3 separate regions of the Homo sapiens genome follow, and regions 1 and 2 are each linked to region 3. Evidence: promoter capture Hi-C in 16 types of primary human blood cells and fetal thymus (Javierre and others, 2016). All regions are on one chromosome and are shown on one strand. The core of a region is centred on a gene start or on the middle of the fragment in contact, and the rest is flanking DNA. Distances in the headings are between cores, read along the strand shown. Region 1 overlaps URI1 (URI1 prefoldin like chaperone). Region 2 has its middle 6.0 kb from the start of URI1. Region 3 holds the start of UQCRFS1 (ubiquinol-cytochrome c reductase, Rieske iron-sulfur polypeptide 1).

Region 1 (3,753 bases), core at 1,211-3,710, 750 kb after region 3:
GTCTTGGCTCATTGCAACCTCCACATCCTGGGTTCAAGCGATTCTCCTGCCTCAGCCTCCCATGTTGCTGGGATTACAGGTGCCCGCCACCACACCCAGCTAATTTTTGTATTTTTAGTAGAGATGAGCGCCATGTTGGTCAGTCTGGTCTCAAACTCCTGACCTCAGGTGATCCACCTGTCTTCGGCCTCCCAAAATTTTACAGGCATGAGCCACGGCGCCTGGCCCAGAGTAGTCTTTTTTTTTTTTTTTTTTTTAAGAAGGTCCAAATCAATAGGTCTTTTATTGCATCATTGAAATATCACAAGTATGTCTTAGGAGTCATCTGGCATCTTCTTTCTGTAGCTGGATAACTCTTAGATCTGATTCATCAACCTGCTGAACAGTTCCTTTTTCAGAGACATAGATACCATCCAAAAATTTCCTGATATCCTTGTTTTTAACTGTTGTGGGTTGCTGAATCAAAGCTGCTGAATTTGAAACAAGCTCAGTGTCATTTCCTTCAAGGATTAATTCATCTTTCTGGGCTTGAGGTACTGAACAGGCAACACCTGGTCTCATCTGAACCCTGCGGATGTATTTTTCACCCAAGAAATTTCGGATTTCAACAAGAGACCCATTCTGGATAACGACGTTGATGGGGGAAGTGAGCATACACAGACCTCATCTTGTAATGGAAGCCCAGTGTAACACCCTTGATCATGTTCTGTACATGACTACAAATAGTCCGAACGGTAGCCAGTTCCTTTCTGTTACCCGACCATTTGTCAACCCGGAGCCTCTTTTTTTTCTTTCCAAGGAGTCTGAGTTCTACGTTGATGTGATTGAAGTCCTTCCGCAGGGTTCCTCTGGGGCCCTTTATGATAACTGTGCGTCCCTTCAGAGTAACGTTGACATTTTCTGGAATGTCAACAGTCTGATTGCTGAGAATGGTCTTCATTCTCACAGTAAACGCAGCAAAAAAAAGTGGCCCAGAGTAGTCTTTTTAAGAATGCAAATTGGATGATGTCATTTTGTCATTTTCCTGCTTATAATTCTTTTGGATTTATCAGCAGGAAAACCGTAAAAGAAATACAATTTATGTTTTGAAATTTTAAAATGGATTCCAAGTTTCTGTTGACATCTGCAACTTTTCTTCTGTTTTCATGAATGTATTAATCATAAAGTCTATTATATTTTATAAATGCAATATGTCAATCAAATGAAGGTCTGCTTTTATTCCTTCCCCTTGGTTTCTTTATAGCCGCTTTTGTTTTTATAGATTGCCTTGTACCTTGTAATTTTGAACTGGATGCCAGATATTGTAACAAAAAATTCTAGGGATTCTGGAGGGGGTTAAGCTTTCTTTTAGCAGCCAGAGTAATCCTTATGGAGTATGTTGTCTGTTTCATAAATTATGTGATTATTTGTGTGTAGCTCTGTTTCTCTATTCTGTTCCATTGGATTATTTGCCTGTAATTGCACCAGTATCACACTCTTACTATTTTAGCTTTATAATAGGTCTTGATATCTAGTAGTAAAATTCCTCTAGCACTTTGTTCTTCAAGATTGTCTTTACTATTCTGACCCTTTGCTTTTTTGTATATATTTTAGGATCACCTTTCCAATACTCAAAAAATAACATTACTGGGGTTTTGCTTGGAGTGCACTGGATCTAAAGATCGGTTTGAGGAGAATTAAGATGTTTACAATATTAAGTTTTAAAATCTATGAACATGGTATATCAATTTATTTACTTCTATAACTTTTTAGTATTAGCTTTTAAAAGTATATAAATCTTCATGTGTTAGATTTATTTCTAGATACTATTTTTTGTTGCCTTTTGTAATTTACTTGCTATTCATTTTTTTTTTTTTTTTTGCTGGTAACATACTTGATTTTTACATATTGACTTTGTTCTAAAATTTTTTGTTGTTGTTAAAAAATAGAGATGAGTTTGCTGTGTTGGCCAGACTAGTCTCCAACTCCAGGCCTCAAGTGATCCACCCGCCTCTGCTTCCCAAAGTGCTGGGACCACAACAAGTGTGAGCCACCATGCCTGGCCTAAATTTATTTGAATTCTAATTACTTGCCTGTACATTCTGATAGTATCTGTGTAGTTACATACAGGCATGTTGTTTGTAAATACTGACAGTTTTATTCATTCCAGTTCTTAAGTTTTTTTTTATGGTTGTTTGTTTTGTTTTGTTTTTTGCCCTATTGTATGGGCTAGAACCTTTAATATAATGTAAAATAAAAGTTAGGACATTGGGCTTTACATACCAGGAGGGCAGTTTTAAGTATTTCACCATACAGATGTTCGTAGTTGGCTTTTTGTAGCTACTCGTTATGAAAATAAGGACATTTTCTCCTGTTGCTAATTTTATCATTAATGGATGCTGAATTTTATCAAATGTATTTTCTATGTTTCTTGAGATAACAATATGGTAAATTACTTTGATTCTTTAAAAATATTCAAATGCCATTGCATTCCTGCAGCAAACCCATTTGTAGAGGATGTGTTTACCTTGTTGTATATTGCTAGATTAAATTTGATAATATTTTATTAAGGTATTTTGTTCTGTTACATGAGGCAAAATTCTGTAATTCTTTCTTTTCTTTTCTTTTTTCTTTTTTTTTGATTAACTCTACCAGGGTGCTGCGGCTCACACCTGTAATCCCAGCACTTTGGGAAGCTGAGGTGGGCGGATCACGTGAGGTCAGGGGTTTGAGATCAGCCTGGCCAACATGGTGAAACCCCATCTCTACAAAAAATACAAAAATAAGCTGGGTGTGGTGGCGGGGGCCTGTAATCCCAGCTACTCGGAAGGTTGAGGCATGAGAATTGCTTGAACCCGGGAGGTGGAGGTTGCAGTGAGTTGAGATCACGCCACTGCACTCCAGCCTGGGCAAGTGAGACTCCGTCTCAAAAAAAAAACAACAAAAAACATTAACACTACCTTAAACCTATGATTTTCTTTTCTTGTAATGTCGACGTAAGGATTTGGCTTCAGAATTAGGCTGGTCTCATGAAACAACTCCCATTTTTGTATATCCTATAAAAGTTTATACACTGTTGTTATTGGTTTTTGTGTGTGTGTTTTGTTTTTGTTTTTTTGAAACAGAATCTCGCTCTCATCCAGGCTGGAGTGCAGTGGCCAATCCTGGCTCATTGCATCCTGGAACTCCCAGGCTCAGGTGATCCTCTCGCCTCAGTCTCCCCGAGTAGCTGGGGCTATAGGAATGCGCCACCATGCCTGGCTAATTTTTCTGTATTTTTTGTAGAGACAGAGTCTCACTATGTTGCCCAGGCTGGTCTTGAACTTCTGGGATCAAGCTATCCATCTGCCTTGGCTTCCCAAAATGATGGACTACAGGCTAGTCAGCCACTGTGCCTGGCTCGTACTGTTTCTAACTTAAATGTTTGGAAGAGTTCATCAACAAAGCCGTCTGGGCCCAATATTTTTCTTGGACATTTTGTATGGAGATTTTAAGATACGACCTCAATTTCTTTGAAAGTTCAAAGACTATCCAGATTTTCTGTTTCTAGTTATATCATTTTAGAAAATGTGATTTTCAAGGAATTGTCCTTTCTAAGTTTTCAAGCTTGTTGTCCCTCCGAGTTATCATAATATCCTGTTATCTTTTTATTATCAGTAGATTTGGTGGTGATGTCCTCTTTTTAATTACTGTAATTTTTAATTTGTGGGTTTTTTCCTCCCTTGATTTCTCTTCTTAAGGGTTTATCAATTTTATATTTTATATTTTTGCCTT
Region 2 (3,592 bases), core at 769-3,268, 720 kb after region 3:
CTCACTACAATCCCACGTGGTTTTTCTTATGTGTACACACATGCTACTGTTCAGATCTCTTCTTCTCTGTTATGACATGAGGTCTTGCTCTGTAGCCCAGGCTGTAGTGCAGTGGTGAGCTCATAGCTCACTGCAGCTTCGACCTCTTGGGCTCAAGCAATCCTCCTGCCTTAGCCTCCCAAGTCGCTGTGACTACAGGCATGTGCCACCAAACCTGGCTTATTTTTTTTTAATTTTATTTATTTATTTATTTATTTTTAGAGACCAGGTCTCACTATGTTGCTCAGGATAGTCTTGAATCCTGGGCTCAAGTGATCCACCTGCTTTGGCTTCCCAGGGATTGGTAGCATAAGTGCTGGGATTACAGGCATAAGCCAACATGCCCATATTATTTTCTTACTTTCCATCCTTTCGAATCTTTTGATCCAAAGTAAGTCTCTTGCAGACAGCATATAAATTAATAATTTTTAGAAATCCATTCTATCAATCTCTGCCCTTTAATTAGACAGTTTAGTCCATTTACATTTAAAGTAATTACCAATAAAGGATTTAATTCTGCCATTTATTTAATAGCTATTTGCTTTTCTGTACATTTTTTAAATTTTGTTCCTCAATTCCTCCACTACTACATTTTTTTGGTATTTAATAGATTTTAGTGTATCATTTTGATTCCTTTTTTCTTTCCCTGTCTGTATATTTTTTAGTTATTTTCTTAGCGGTTGCCTTGGGGATCACAATTAGCATCTTAAATTTATAACACCCTAATTTGAATAATACTAACTTAGTTTTAAGAGTATACAAATACTTTGCTCCTATACATCTCTTTCCCTCCCTCTTTATATTATTATTGTCCCAGATCATATCTTTATACATTCTGTGCCCATTAACATAGATTTATAATTATTGTTTCATGCATTTGCCCTTTAAATGATAGGTGAAAAACAAAGTATTATGAACAAAACCTACAATAATACTGGCTTTTATATTTACTGATGTATGTAGTTACTATTTTTATCAGTGTTCTTTTTTTTTCTCATCATGGCTTTGAATTACTATCAAGTTTCCTTTCATTTCAGCCTGATGGATTCATTTTAGCAGCTCTTGTAGAGCAGGGCTACTAGCAATGAGCTTTCTCTGCGTTTATTTATCTGAAAATGTCTTAATTTCTCCTTTATTCCTGAAGGATAGTTTGTCTGGTAGGAAATTCTTGGTTGACAGTCTTTTTTTTTTTTTTCCCCAGGACTTTAACTGTGTTATTCCACTGCCTCTGGGCCTCTGGTTCCTTTTCTTTTCTTTTCTTTTCTTTTCTCTTTTCTTTTTTTTTGAGATGGAGTCTCACACTGTCATCCAGGCTGGAGTGAAATGGTGCCGTCTTGGCTCACTGCAACCTCTGCCTTCCAGGTTCAAGCAATTCTCCTGCCTCAGTCTCCCAAGTAGCTGGGACTACAGGCACCCGCCACCACGCCTGGCTAGTTTTTTGTATTTTTAGTAGAGACAGGGTTTCACTATGTTGACCAGGCTGGTCTAGAATGCCTGACCTCATGATCCACCTGCCTTGGCCTCCCAAAGTGCTGGGATTATAGGCGTGAGCCACTGTGCCCGGCACTTAAAAAAAATTTTTTTTTGAGATGGAGTTTTGCTTTTTTAGAGTTTTGCTCTTGTGCCCAGGCTGGAGTGCAGTGGTGCAATCTTGGCTCACTGAAACCTCCACTTCCCAGGTTCAAGCAATTCTCCAGCCTCAGCCTCCCAAGTAGATAGGATTACAGGTGCCCACCACCGCATCTGGCTAATTTTTGTATTTTTAGTAGAATGGGGTTTCGCCATATTGGTCAGGCTGGTCTCGAACTCCTGACCTCAGGCGATCTGCCCACCTCGGCCTCCCAAAGTGCTGGAATTACAGGCCTGAGCCACTGCACCCAGCCCCTCTATGGTTTCTGATGAAAGCTTAGCTATTAATGTTACTGAGGACTCCTTGTACCTTACAAGTTGTTCCTCTCTTGCTGCTTTCAAGATTCTCTTTTTGTTTCTGATTTTTGACAATCTGGCTGTGAGTTTCAGTATGAATCTCTGAGTTTCTCGCGCTTGTAATTTGTTAAGCTTCTTGGACGTGTATGTTCATATCCTTCATCAAATTTGGGAAGTTTTCAGCCATTATTTCTTCAAATTTCTTTTTCTGTCCCTTCCTGTTCCTCTTCTCCTTCAGGAACTTCTACTATGCATATGTTGATATATGCTTGATGGCATCACATGGATCTATCAGGCTCTGTTCATTTTTCCTTTTCTTTTTTTTGAGATAGAGTCTCACTCTATTGCCCAGGCTGGAGTGCAGTGGCATGATCTTGGCTCACTGCAACCTCCTCCTTCTTGATTCAAGTGATTCTCTGGCCTCAGCCTCCCCAGCAGCTAGGGTTACAGGTGCGCGTCACAATGCCTGGCTAATTTTTGTATTTTAGTAGAGATGGGGTTTCACCATGTTGGCCAGGCTGATCTCAAACTCCTGAATTCAAGTGATCCACCCTCCTCGGCCTCCCAAAGTGCTGGGATTACAGGCATGAGCCACCATGGCCAGCCTATTTTTCGTTATTTATTTTTCTCTCTTTACAACTGGACAATTTCAATTGCCTTATCTTCAAGTTCACTGGTTCTTTCTTCTTCCTGATTCTTCAGATCAGCTTTTTGATCTCTCTAGTGAATTTCTAAGTTCAAGCTATTGTACTTTTCGGCTCCAGGATTTCTATTTTGTTCCTTTTTATAAGATTAAACTATCTCTTCATTGGCCTTCCCTATTTGTTCATATATTATTTTGGTTTCCTTTAGCTCATTGGGTGTAAGACAGTTGATTTAATGTCTTTGACTAATGTTTCCAATGTAAAGGCTTCCTTGGGGATGGCTTCTATTGAATTCTTTTTTTCCCCCTGTGAATAGGCTATACTTTCCTTTTTCTTTGTATGCTTTGTAATATTTTGTTGAGCACTTGGCATTTTGGGTATTATTGTAGTAACTCTGAAAATCAGATTCTCCTCCTCTTCAGGGATTGCTGATTTTTGCTTGTTGAGGGTTGCAGCCATCTGTTTGTTTAGAGACTTTTCCAAACTATGTTTGCAAAGTGTGTAGTCCTTATTGCATGTGGTTACTGATGTTTTTGTTTCATAATCTTTACAGGCAACCAGTGACCTGGAAATGATATCTGTAAATTTCTGGCTACAAAAAGGTGTTCTTTACTTTCAAATCTCCTGATGGATGCTGCCATAGGAAGCACAAGAGGGCTGAAACCAATACAGGAGTCTGTGCTAATCCCTCAGGACTCAAAAATGCCCCAATTTTTGGAGGACAAGGGTCATCTTGCCCACCTTGCAACCAGCCAGCCATTCCAGGAAAGCTATTCCTGCAGCCTCATGGTAGGGTGAGGGCTGAGAAATGGGGCATGGCAGCTGTTTTGCATCCACCCTGTTGCTGTTCTCTTACCAACAACCAGCAGCCTCTTTTTTCATCAAGAACTCCCCTGGCTGTTTATTCATGTCTCATGAGGTTTGCCTGTCTAATTTTTTGTATCTTTAGTAGAGATGGGGTTTCACCATATTGGCCAGGCTGG
Region 3 (3,430 bases), core at 277-2,776:
GTAAAGTGTATGTGCTACAGAGACAGACAAATCAGCAAATAAAAACTTTATTCACCTGATCCTTAACTGAGATTGAAAAGATGGGTAAGGAAAACATATGGACATGTAGCAACTTAGTGGAAGGACCATGAAGAAAGTGCAGAGCCCAGGGTGAATGAAGACAGAGTAAAAAGAAAAGTGGCGGGCAATTTGGTTAGCGTGTAGGGGAAGAGTCACAAACAGCTATCAGTGGAGCCAGGCTGGTAACAGAATGAAACACGCAGACCTGGTAAAGACTGTGACAAACTGGAGAAGACCACTTGCTCCAACTGCGGGGGCGGCCACTACACAGCACACTATGGAATTTTCCCAAGTAGAAACTAGATCCCAGTATTACCGGCTTCCAGCATTTTAAGAGATGCCATTAGTCTTCCCAGTTTTTTTGAAAACTACACAGCCTGCAGACACACTGCCCACAGGCTGCCATTTCTCTATCTCCGATACAGGGCCAAGTAAAGATGGAAGGCGAGGCAAAGAAGATAAACGGGGATCTAAGGACAGAGGGTGTGGAATAGCCCCTGCGAAGAGCTCAGTGGCTACGACAATTCGTCTTGTCAAATCCCTGCTACCACATGTCCACACCACGGATCCTGGTGCGAGTCATTCTACCTCGTCTGTTTTCTCATCTGTAAAATGTAAATGTCGTCAATCTCTGCCCGTCCTTGACGACTGATTATGTTGTGACACTACACTGTAACTGACCTTGTGTATGTTTTTTTTGTTTTTTTTTTGGTGGGGGGGTGATGAAGGGGAAGGACATGAAGGGATCGGTAGTGGTGAGAAGACCAACTTCCCAAATATTAGTAAGTTTCCATTTCTTAAGCATGTAAGTGCCCAAACTGTGCTAACGGCTTTACGTAGAATTCCTCCACCTAAGCCTCACGACACCCCTACAAAATTGATAAAGATATGAATCCATTTCACAGGAAGTACGTTTAGAAACTCGCCCAAGGTCAAACGACCTGCAAGCAACAAAACCCCTCAGAGGTGGCTGGAACAGCGGGACTACAGAGCTCGTGAACTCGGCCGAGGAGGAACCAGGCGAAGCCGGCGGACGCGAGTCCAGGCCGGCCACCAGAAAGACGCCCCGAGCCCGGGGGCCAGGCCCAGAGTTGCGGAGGCCGCCCAGCCCGACCTGATTCAGGCTCCGCTCGCGCGCCCGCGGCCGCTCCCTGCTGGGGGCCGGAGGAGCGGGCACCGAGAGACCCCCAGCCCTGCTCGCGGCCCTCGCCCCGGCTCACCATTGAGGCCCACGGAGGCGACCAAAGGCCGGCGCACGGCCTGGCCGCTCAGCGACTCCCGGCTGAGGAAGGGCCGCTTCAGGTCCAACACAGGCTGCTCCGGGGTGGCGGGCACCGTGGCCTGCACCAAGGGCCGCAGCGCGCCCGCCACCCCGCGGGACGTGGCCGACAGGACGGGCGCGAACGGGCCTGAGCGGGATGCTACCGACAACATGGCGACAGCCGCTCCAACCGCCAAGCCGGTCACAGGGACGACCTTCCAACCACGGCGCAGGCGCGAGGAGGCGCGGGACGCGTGACGACAGCGCGCCGCCGGAAAGGAAATTCTGCAGTCCTGCAGGGCGGGGCAAACTTGGAGAGGCGCTGCGTCGGGGGACGGGGCTACAAGCCGTCGCTGGGGGCGGGGCTTGCGGCCCACCTGTAGGTCCCGGTGCCACCTCGTCAGTGTCCCGAGAGATCCCCAGAAGAACGAGAGGGCTGAACAGGGGACCCCACTGACGTCCGGTGGGCCGACTTTACGATCCTTTAGGGTAAAAATTTCATCTAGGAAGACCTAGAGATAACAATAAACGATTATAGTTTAACTTAGGATGGTAATATATCTCAACTACGACGAAGTCCAGCACATAGTAATCGCTATGTGTTTACTATGATGATTTTTATTATCTTCATCTAACAACAACAACAACAAAAAGGCCAGAGGCATCTGTGCAAAGCTCGATAATGCTAATGGATTATGTTTATTAAGTATTCACTGTGTATTTGGTTTTGCGTTTTATTATACCTACGTTCTTTCATTTGTTATCAAGGTCTCTATGAAGTCAGAGCTATTACTATCAGCATTTTACCCATGAAGAAACCGAGGTTTAGAGAGATTCTTTTCCAGGAACTGGATAGCCAGCAAGATGTGAAGCAGGGTAATCTGTCTCCTGAGTCTATGCTCTTCAGTGCCACCACTGTTTCCCAAAGTAGGATTTTAGAATTTTAGAGGATGCACAGAGCTCGCTCATTCATGTTCCATCACATAGTGAGAAAGTTTTGTTTTCTTTTGTTTTGTTTTTCAATCCTGATTGCACCAATGAGAAAGTCTCAGTTTGGTGCTAATACATCTTTAATTAAAAAAAAAAAAAAGTAGAGATGAGGTCTCACTATATTGCCCACTCCAGTCTCGAACTTCTGGCCTCAAGGAGTCCTGTCTCCCCCTCCCAAAGTACTGGGATTATAGGCATGAGCAAATTCACTTGGCCTCAGTTTGATCCTAATATATCTTTAATTCCTCTCTACACTTATCTCCCACTTTTAACAGAAAAGATCTTGAGTTAGAAGCTCTTAGCAGAGAACTGAGTCTAGAGTGATTTCATTATATGGTTCATAGTATTGATTTTCTATCCATACTGGTTTTCTATTCTGTACTATACTGAGATAAAGTTTTTCATTTAGGTCAAAAATAATTTAAATATTAAGTAAATGTTAATATAAGCAGTGCACAGAATTGGCTCTGTGCTGTGCATGGGCTCTGTGATCTGGGCAAGTTCCCTCACCTCTCTGTGCCTCAGTTTCCTCACCTGCCAAATGGGGGCAGTAATGATGCCATGTGTGTTGTAAAGTTACTGGGAGGAGTAAATGAACTAAAACGTGTAAAGCATCTACAAGCAGGCCCAGCACACAGGCAGCACCAAGTGAGGATTTGCTAGTGGTGTTTTTATCTGAGATGCCACCTCCTCTAAGAAGCCTTCCCTTGATCCTTGCTGACTCGTTGTTATTCCTCATGCCAGGTCCAAAGTGTACTGACAGGTTTCCCCTTTGACCTTCCTATGACTCCCCTTAGGGCCTAGGCTTTGACCAGCCTTATAGCCCAAGGGACTATATTGTACTCTCAAGATTGGAGGCTGCCTCCTCAGGGGCCACCCTAGCCAGGCTCATCACACAGCTGGCTCAGTGCTCTCCCTTGGCAACAACCTTAGGATAAAAGACATTTCCAGAGAAGTTGTCACACAGCATGCATGGTTTGAGTGCTTCACAAGAAATAATATCACAATTCCCTCTGAGTTGGTAAGGAAATGAAAAATGAATGAATGAATGAATGATCCTTCACAAAACCTTCACAATGTCCCAGTTGGGTGAACAGAATAGGAATTATCTCCAGACCT

Evidence for each region. Contacts are between HindIII fragments. The CHiCAGO score rates a contact against its expected background, and 5 or more counts as called.
Region 1: a contact is called between a fragment that was not itself captured here and the fragment with the promoter of UQCRFS1 in region 3, in 3 of 17 cell types (naive CD8 T cells, total CD8 T cells and monocytes). The highest score is 5.3, in naive CD8 T cells.
Region 2: a fragment that was not itself captured here is called in contact with the fragment with the promoter of UQCRFS1 in region 3 in 7 of 17 cell types (naive CD8 T cells, activated CD4 T cells, total CD8 T cells and 4 more); the score reaches 11.1 in naive CD8 T cells.

Annotation. Positions count from the first base shown.
Region 1 is chr19:29,956,049-29,959,801 of GRCh38, forward strand. All of the region lies in intron 1 of URI1 (URI1 prefoldin like chaperone), which reads left to right. It also overlaps the pseudogene RPL9P32. Among named protein-coding and RNA genes, the nearest start is that of URI1, 16 kb to the left of the region's middle. The HindIII fragment of the contact is 2,245 bases long and covers 1,339-3,583 here.
Region 2 is chr19:29,934,481-29,938,072 of GRCh38, forward strand. It overlaps a transcript of URI1 not described here. Among named protein-coding and RNA genes, the nearest start is that of URI1, 6.0 kb to the right of the region's middle. The HindIII fragment of the contact is 153 bases long and covers 1,943-2,095 here.
Region 3 is chr19:29,211,625-29,215,054 of GRCh38, forward strand. It overlaps UQCRFS1 (ubiquinol-cytochrome c reductase, Rieske iron-sulfur polypeptide 1), which reads right to left and starts at 1,527. Exons shown (of 2, transcript NM_006003.3): 1 at 1,281-1,527. The coding sequence starts at 1,494. UQCRFS1-DT (UQCRFS1 divergent transcript) reads left to right here and starts at 1,629. Exons shown (of 2, transcript NR_184022.1): 1 at 1,629-1,784. RefSeq lists a silencer at 1,121-1,430 and an enhancer at 1,471-1,710. The HindIII fragment of the contact is 13,970 bases long and covers 1-3,430 here.